Linked DNA regions of Homo sapiens: region 1 is linked to region 2. Evidence: promoter capture Hi-C in human tissues and cell types (Jung and others, 2019). All regions are on one chromosome and are shown on one strand. Each heading gives the region's core, a stretch centred on a gene start or on the middle of the fragment in contact. The rest is flanking DNA. Distances are from core to core; before and after follow the strand shown.

Evidence for each region. Contacts are between HindIII fragments. The study calls those that stand out against the background at their distance.
Region 1: a fragment that was not itself captured here is called in contact with the fragment with the promoter of CLDN17 in region 2 in 1 of the 25 tissues and cell types used here (hippocampus).

What each region holds. Positions count from the first base shown.
Region 1 is chr21:30,106,745-30,110,532 of GRCh38, forward strand. No RefSeq gene overlaps it. Among named protein-coding and RNA genes, the nearest start is that of CLDN17, 58 kb to the right of the region's middle. The HindIII fragment of the contact is 3,385 bases long and covers 152-3,536 here.
Region 2 is chr21:30,164,533-30,168,318 of GRCh38, forward strand. CLDN17 (claudin 17) reads right to left here and starts at 2,273. Exons shown (of 1, transcript NM_012131.3): 1 at 1,033-2,273. The coding sequence starts at 2,085. The coding sequence ends at 1,411. The HindIII fragment of the contact is 9,466 bases long and covers 1-3,786 here.

The DNA.
Region 1 (3,788 bases), core at 594-3,093, 58 kb before region 2:
TATAAACACCTGTACATCTTTAACATTTCTCTTTTTCATATAAACTTCATAATAACTATTTTCATAGTTATAATATTTTATCAAATAGATAAGATATAATTTGCTTATAATCTACCACCTCAGCCCAGGCTCACGGTGTCAAACACAGGCTAATATTTATTTATTTTGTTGACATGGATAATAATATAAAAACTATTTTTATTTATATAGTCCTTTTCCTACTTTTAGATTATAAGATAATCTCCTACAGGAGAAATTACAGTGTTAAATGTCGTAAACATGTTAAACCTTGATCAGTATTGGTACATTACTTTCTAAATACATTCAACATTTCTAAGCTTGTTTTGAATAAGGCTGTGCAAAAATAAGGTAGATAAAATGGCTGAAACTTCAATTAAGGGAATAGATGTACTATATATGGCCATAGAGAGAAAGAGAAGCTGCTTGCCTTAAGCTCTACAGAGGGCTCAACAAGCTTACACACACACACACACACACACACTCCCATTACACTATAAAGAAAAATAATCTGCATCTGATATATGGTATAGTTGTATGATAATCTTGGCAGAAATCTGGACTTAATGCTCATAAGTAGTAACATGCTAGCACTTCATTACATATTATTGACTTTGACTCATATTTGCTGCAAAAAAATATTCCAAAACCATTTGCAACTGAATAAAGCATTCAGTTTGCATGTTGGGAAAACTATTAAAAGTCGCTGCATGAAATTAAGGAAACCTCTGAGTTTATGAGGCTGCTTATCACATTTAAAGTTGACAGTATGGTTCTTAGGAGGCAGCAGAATGATTATGGTAAAACACTGTAGGTAGTAAGAGAACTTAAATGCCAAAGATCATTTTACCCAGGAAAAGAGGTAGAGAGGGAGTAATGAAACTAAAGGCTAGACCTAAAACTTCAAGCTTTATTCTTTCAGAGCAATTTCCTTTTTTTAAATGTACAGAAAAAGAAGTACTTAAAATAATTAATAGAACATTCTGTAAGTAATTCAATTATGCTAAAATTACTTTGACTGTCTCTCTGCACTCTCACAGTATTTGGGTAGGTTCACATAGGATGAAGAAGAGAATTCTAAGTCAGAATGTTAAGAGTTAATGTTTCCTTTAAATACCAGAGCTTGCCTTTGTGATTTATGAAAATGGAACAAGATTGTGGGATCTTTGAAAATAGAGTCAATATCATATTTATTCAATATTCTTTTTTTTTGACCCAGCTCTATATTTATTTAAAAGACTGTTTCTCCACTGTTCTGCAGTACGGCATTCATCATGAAGTCAGCATTCATATGTGATCAATACGTTCTCTGTTCTTTTCAACTTCAGTCAATTTGCCCATCTTTGCGTCACTATCACACTATCTTTACTTCGATAGCTCTACAGGTCTTAATATCTGGTTGAATAAATTCTCCATAGTTGTTTTTCTTTCTCAAAAATTTGTTTAACAGCTTTATTGAGCTATAACTCACATACCATAAAATTCATCTATTTAAATTATACAATTGAATTTATATGATGTATAGTTATAGATATGTGCAACCATGACTACTCCTAGTTTTAGAACATTTTCATCACCACATGAAGAAATCTTGTACTTTTAAGTTATCAGCCCCTACATTCCCATCCTTTCTCCAGCCCTAAGCAACTCTAATCTACTTTCTATCTCTATTCTGGACTTTCATATGAATGTAATTATATACTGGACTTTCATATTAATGTATATAATTAAGTAATATAATATGATTATATAATGTGTGATCTTCTGTAATCGGCTCCTTTCACTTTGCCTGGTTTCAAGGTTCATCCATATTGTACCATGTATCAGTACTTTCTTTTTTATGGAAAAATTACATTCCATTTTATCATAGTCTACATTTTGATTATCCATTTATTCGTTGATGGACATTTGAGATGTTTCTACCTATTGGCTATTAATACTGAATAATACTGTTATAAACATATGTGTACGTGTTTTCATTTGTACATATAGGTTTCATTTCTCTTGGGTATGTACGAAGGACGAGAATTGCTGGGTCATATGGTAGCTCTATGTCTAATTGTTCACAGAACTGCCAGATGTTTTTCATCCCCATTTCCCAGCAACAATGTATAGGGACTCAATTTCTTTATATCATCACAAACACTTGTTATTATCTACTTTGATTCTAGCCATCCCAGTTCGTAAGAAGTATTATCTCATTGTGGTTTTTATTTGCATTTCTCTGATGACTAATGTTGTTAAGTATCTTTTTATGTGCTTATTAGCCAGTTGTGTATCTTCCTTGGAGAAATGTCTATACAAATACTTTGCACTTTTTAAATTGTGTTTTTAATTATTGAGTTGTAGAGTTCTTTGTATATTCTGGATATAAGTTTTCTATCATATATAATTTGCATATATTTTCTATTATTTGGATTGTCTTTTCACTTTCCTGACAGTGCCTTTTGAAAAACAGAAGTTTTTAATTGTGATAAAGTCCAATTTTTCTATTTTTTCTTTTGTTGATTATGCTTTCGGTGTCATATCTAAGAAACTTTTGCCAAATGTAAGATCATAAACATTTACCCATGTGTCTTTTGTCTTTTTCATTCTTGCATACAAATATAATTTCTTACATAATTAAAATATGCTTAATGCATGCATATTAAAAATGTAATTACTAGAACATCAAAGAGGATGAATGTTAAAAGTATGTTAATTGCCACTGTAGAATATTCAGGTTGTTTTCTGTGTTTAACTACTCTTATACGAAAAAATATAAGGGTTCAGGTATATTGCTAGTATGCTTTGGTCTTCTTTACCAAACCTTCAATTAGATGAAAATAATTTGTATAACCCCCAAGCTAAAAGATTCAAAATAGTATTTTCAAAATGTGAAAGCTTAGTTTTGTTAACTTAATTTTCCTTAAAAGCATCACAATGAATTCATTGATTTTTCTAAAAAAAAAACTCATTCCTTGGACTATGTTAACTTTTAAAATGTTTACTAAAACCAGTGTGTTTAATAAGAGCATGACTTACATAATTTATTTAATCCCTATTAGTATATTATTCCTGGATTTCTCTTAAAAATAAAAGCAAAATTATTTAAGTTATAAACATGTTATAAACATATGTGTACTTTTTTTTGTACATTGTCATTTTTATAATCTTATTTTCAGGTTATATTAGGGTTTATTCATTTTGGGGTAAGAAGGCATAAAATATAAGAAAGCAAAAATTATAAAAAAGATGGGTGAATGAATGAATAGCTGATACCATGAAAGAGGGAATAATCCATAAATTATATAGATATATATATTCTTAAGTAATTAAACTTATGAGAGTATTTTTTCCTCTGTCCAATTTCATTTACATTTGGATAAATCTAACTGGAAAGCACAGTTTATGAATTTTACTGTACAGCAATGAGCAACTAGATTGTAAAAGATAATAAACTCAACACATAGCCTATCCCATGTCAGAATCAGGTTTAATGTTGAATGTTGCATTTTAAAAATGACAAATTCAAATAAATATTTACAAAGAAGGATTGACAGAATGTAAACATTCTAGAAAATATTTTATAGAGGAAGAGTTGAAGAAATAGGAGTGTTAATGTAACTAATAGATGACTTCAGGAAACATAATGGCTCTTTTACATTTTTGAAGAATAGCCCAATAGAAGATTGAGTTATATTCATAACTAAAGAGAATTTAGAGTTAATACATAAAAATTATAAAACGATGGTTTTGCCAACATAAAGATTTTTATAATATTTTCCAAA
Region 2 (3,786 bases), core at 1,023-3,522:
TTCAGAGTTACTAAGTGATCTTGTGAGGACAGAAATTTATTCTAATTGACCCTACAGCTAAATATATCAACATCATTGTAATCTATTTTATTTTATTACCATAAGGATGAAGATGCAATAAATTTTTGGTGAGCAAATTCAAGCTTCTCATTGCAATTATATACTCAAAATTAAATACATTTTTATTACAAAATAAGCACAATATTTGAAGAGTTAAAACTGAACATGTAAGCACTGATTGATTCACAAGATCTAAAAGCTATTCAGAAGCAACCCATAGGGGTGATCTTGCCTCATAAACACTCCCCACTCACTCTCACCCCACATGACCCACCACACTTTTAACCCTGATATTGATATGGGAAATGAAGAACTGAGAAAATCATGTGTGTAATTCAAGCAAAACAAAAAAACCTTCACCATACCTATTTGTTTAGTAGAGAATACAAAAAAGGTATTTATCTTAGCCTGACTAATTGTCTGAATCATTACCTTGATTCTTCGAATTGCTTAGCATGTTTATACCTGTGCAATGACTAAAGAATAAAACAAAGAAAAGAAACCATTCCCTTCAATGCCCAAACTGCAATTTTCTATTTGGGACCATATAACCTCTAGATAAGAATTGAGTGTTAATAGCCTCCCATTGATGTGTCTTATCAAGATAGATGCTTCTGTTTGCTTGACGTGCAGATGGTAGGCTATGAAAAATGTTAGTTTTCATTTATAAATTATTTTCCTTTAAACAGTAATTCTAGGCAAGTTTAACTGTATAAATTAGAGACCTTAAAATCTGTCTTCTTAATTGTCCTAAGAGAAATCAGAGCTCTCTTTTCACTAAAGTGTCTAATTTTTATTGTGTGAGTTCCTAAAGGAACAAAGCCTTTCATTAGATGGACATTTTCGTCTAATTCAACTAACGATTATTGTTTGATATCTACAATTTTCCATGATAATCTTTTTAAAAAGGTCACCATTTAGTTGTTAGTATGTAGTACAAGAAACAATGTAGAGGAAAAATAATAGGTTACATTTTAGAATAGGTATATGTTTTATTGTTATAGAATATCAATTTCAACTTTAGATTCTTATCAGATAATACATGATGGTCAAAAAGTAATAAGTAGTCCATCATTGTACACTTGCTAATGATTATGGGTATACTTGAATTTAGAATATGAAAATTGGAGCAGCGATTGGGTCCAACAATAGTCAATGCATTTAATACACCTGAAGTCAGAATGTCCAAGTAAGTCATTTTCATTCCTACCACCAGTAACAAATTGAAACTTTCGTATCAATGTAAATCTAGACATAAAGCAAGTTCTCCTGCCTCACATACTTACAGTTTCTAGCAGGACTTTATAAAAAACATTGACCATAGTCCATACTTGGAGCCAAAAGGAGGCATTAGACATAACTGGTGGAGGTCTTACTAAGCATTGTCGTATTTCTTCGCTTATCTGTGTGTGGCACACGGTAGCCAGGCACTGGATATCTGTACCCTTGCTTCTTTCTGTTGCAGCAGCAAAATCCACAAAGCAGACCCCCTCCAATGAAGAGGACAGCAGCGCTTGCCCAGCCAAGGAAAAGTGCTGCTCCCAGCTCTCGTTTCTGACCTATGTGGATGGCTGGGTTGTAGAAATCTCTGATGATTATATTGGCTGTCCAGCTCACCGGAATCAGAACGAAGATGCCCGTCAGGATGAAGAGGACTCCTGAAGTTCCCAGAAGGTATGCTTTGGCCCTCTCGTTAGAGCCTGTGCACTGGACCTGCTTCATGCCACAGATGCCAATAAGCAGGGCGATCAAGGAGAGAGCAACAGCCACACACATGAGGGCCCGGGCTGTTTCCAGGGCAGGCGGGAGAGCCAACAAGGAGCTATAGAACTTGCATTGCAACCGGACCCTGGCTTGTCGGATGCAATTCATCCAGAGCCCTTCCCAGAGCCTCTCAAAGACAATAATGTTGCTGCCAACAAAAGCTGATACTCTCCACTGAGGCAGAAGGGTTGTGGCAAGAGTCCCCACCATGCCAAGGAACCCAAGAACCAGCCCAGCAATTTGCAAGGGATAAAATGCCATTGCCTTTACTTTGAAGACTGGTTCAATTCGGAGTGGTAGAAGATGCTCAAGATGTAGAACGTGGAAGCCTTTTGAGTCTAGAGAAGTCTTTGATGATGTTCTCCTTGGCTGCTGCCCATAACGTTTTAGTCCAAATCAGTAGCTGTGACTGAACTTGGCCTAACTAGAAGTACCTGTTGTAAATGCATGTTGCCTTTTTTCATACACATTCATTTCAGTATGGATTATTTACTAGTCATATATAATTGTTTCCCAGCCAATAAGAAGGTAGCTAGGGGTGTGTCAAGAAATACTGCATTCAAGTTTAGGATTTCTCATATTATTATTGCCTTAGCAATGCTGTAATTAAGTGTCAAAGTTTCTATTGTGGATTGCTAATTACAGAGCTGAAACTTCCTGTGTAAAAATCACTCTGATATAAAAGTATAAATACATGTGTCAAGACACAGCTGAAGACAATGCCAAAATGTTGTAAGTTTATTGGGGAGTAATTAAAAAACATTTTGGACTTTATTACTTTATTCTAGTGTAAGTAAGCCACTTTTCCTTAAGATGGTAATCAATTCTGGCTTTAATAAAGATGCCTCAATAGGGAGAAATATTTAGGTATTAGTTTCAAGACACACGAAAACTGTTGATACTTAGCAGGAGCCCTAAGCAAGAAATTAACATTTCATAGTTTATTCTTAAGATCCAGAAAAGAAGAAAATAGAGAAGTACTCCTTATAATTAATTTGAATGAACTGTTAATTATTACATTAGCTGTTAAGGAACACCTCTCTCTCTATTGAAGTAATGTTTAATATGGAAACTTTCATTCAATGTTTCTTCAATGGCAGCTTGAAATAGATCACATTTATTAAAGCCAAACACATACCTTTCATTTTTATGGAACAATATAAAAGTGGCCCTTGAAATAAGCTATGCAGTCACTTAAAATTTAGACGCTAGAGAACAATTTAGTGCTGGAAGTTTATCTTCAAGGCCATCAAACTTAAGACCCTTATTTGCCAGATGAACGGGAGGTGTGCAAAGTGTTTGACTGAGACAAGCCATGTGGTAACTGATCCAGGAACAAGCCCAGCCCTGTAACTCACTATGCTTACCTCCTCTGTCTGGTCCGATTCAAAAATAGGAAGGAAAGATGCTTTTTCGAATCTTTTCATATAAGTGGGACTAAACCCAGTAGAAATTTAACACTATCCTTTCTATAGTTTTTCAAATGGTTTTCAAAGGAAGAAAAATTCAACTGAGATTATTTCAAAATTCGAGTCAAGTTGTAGCTTTTGACTGCCGCTTTCTTGCCACTCCCTAGAGGCAGTGGGGGGCTTCATGTGGGAGAAGTGGACCCTTTTCCTTTTTCTTTTACATCCCACTGGCAAGGGATCTATTCTAAGGATGAAAATGTCTCCAAAGCAAGCACGCCAACCACACTCCAGGTGGGAGGCATTACAATTTGCAAAATGTCCTCCATTTCAGTCAATTACCGGCCAAAGATTTAATGGCTGGTCCAATGACATCCAGATTTAAAGAGTCCACTCACTGAATTAATGAATGTGAAAATCACTGAGTTTTCAAAATGATTGGTCTGAGAACTCCCTCTCTAAGGAATGTGAATCATTGAGCAAACAGATGACTTCTGTGTCGTTAACAGTTTCCCAACACCGGATTGGATGAAGGGTTTCTTTGGCCCTTTGTTCA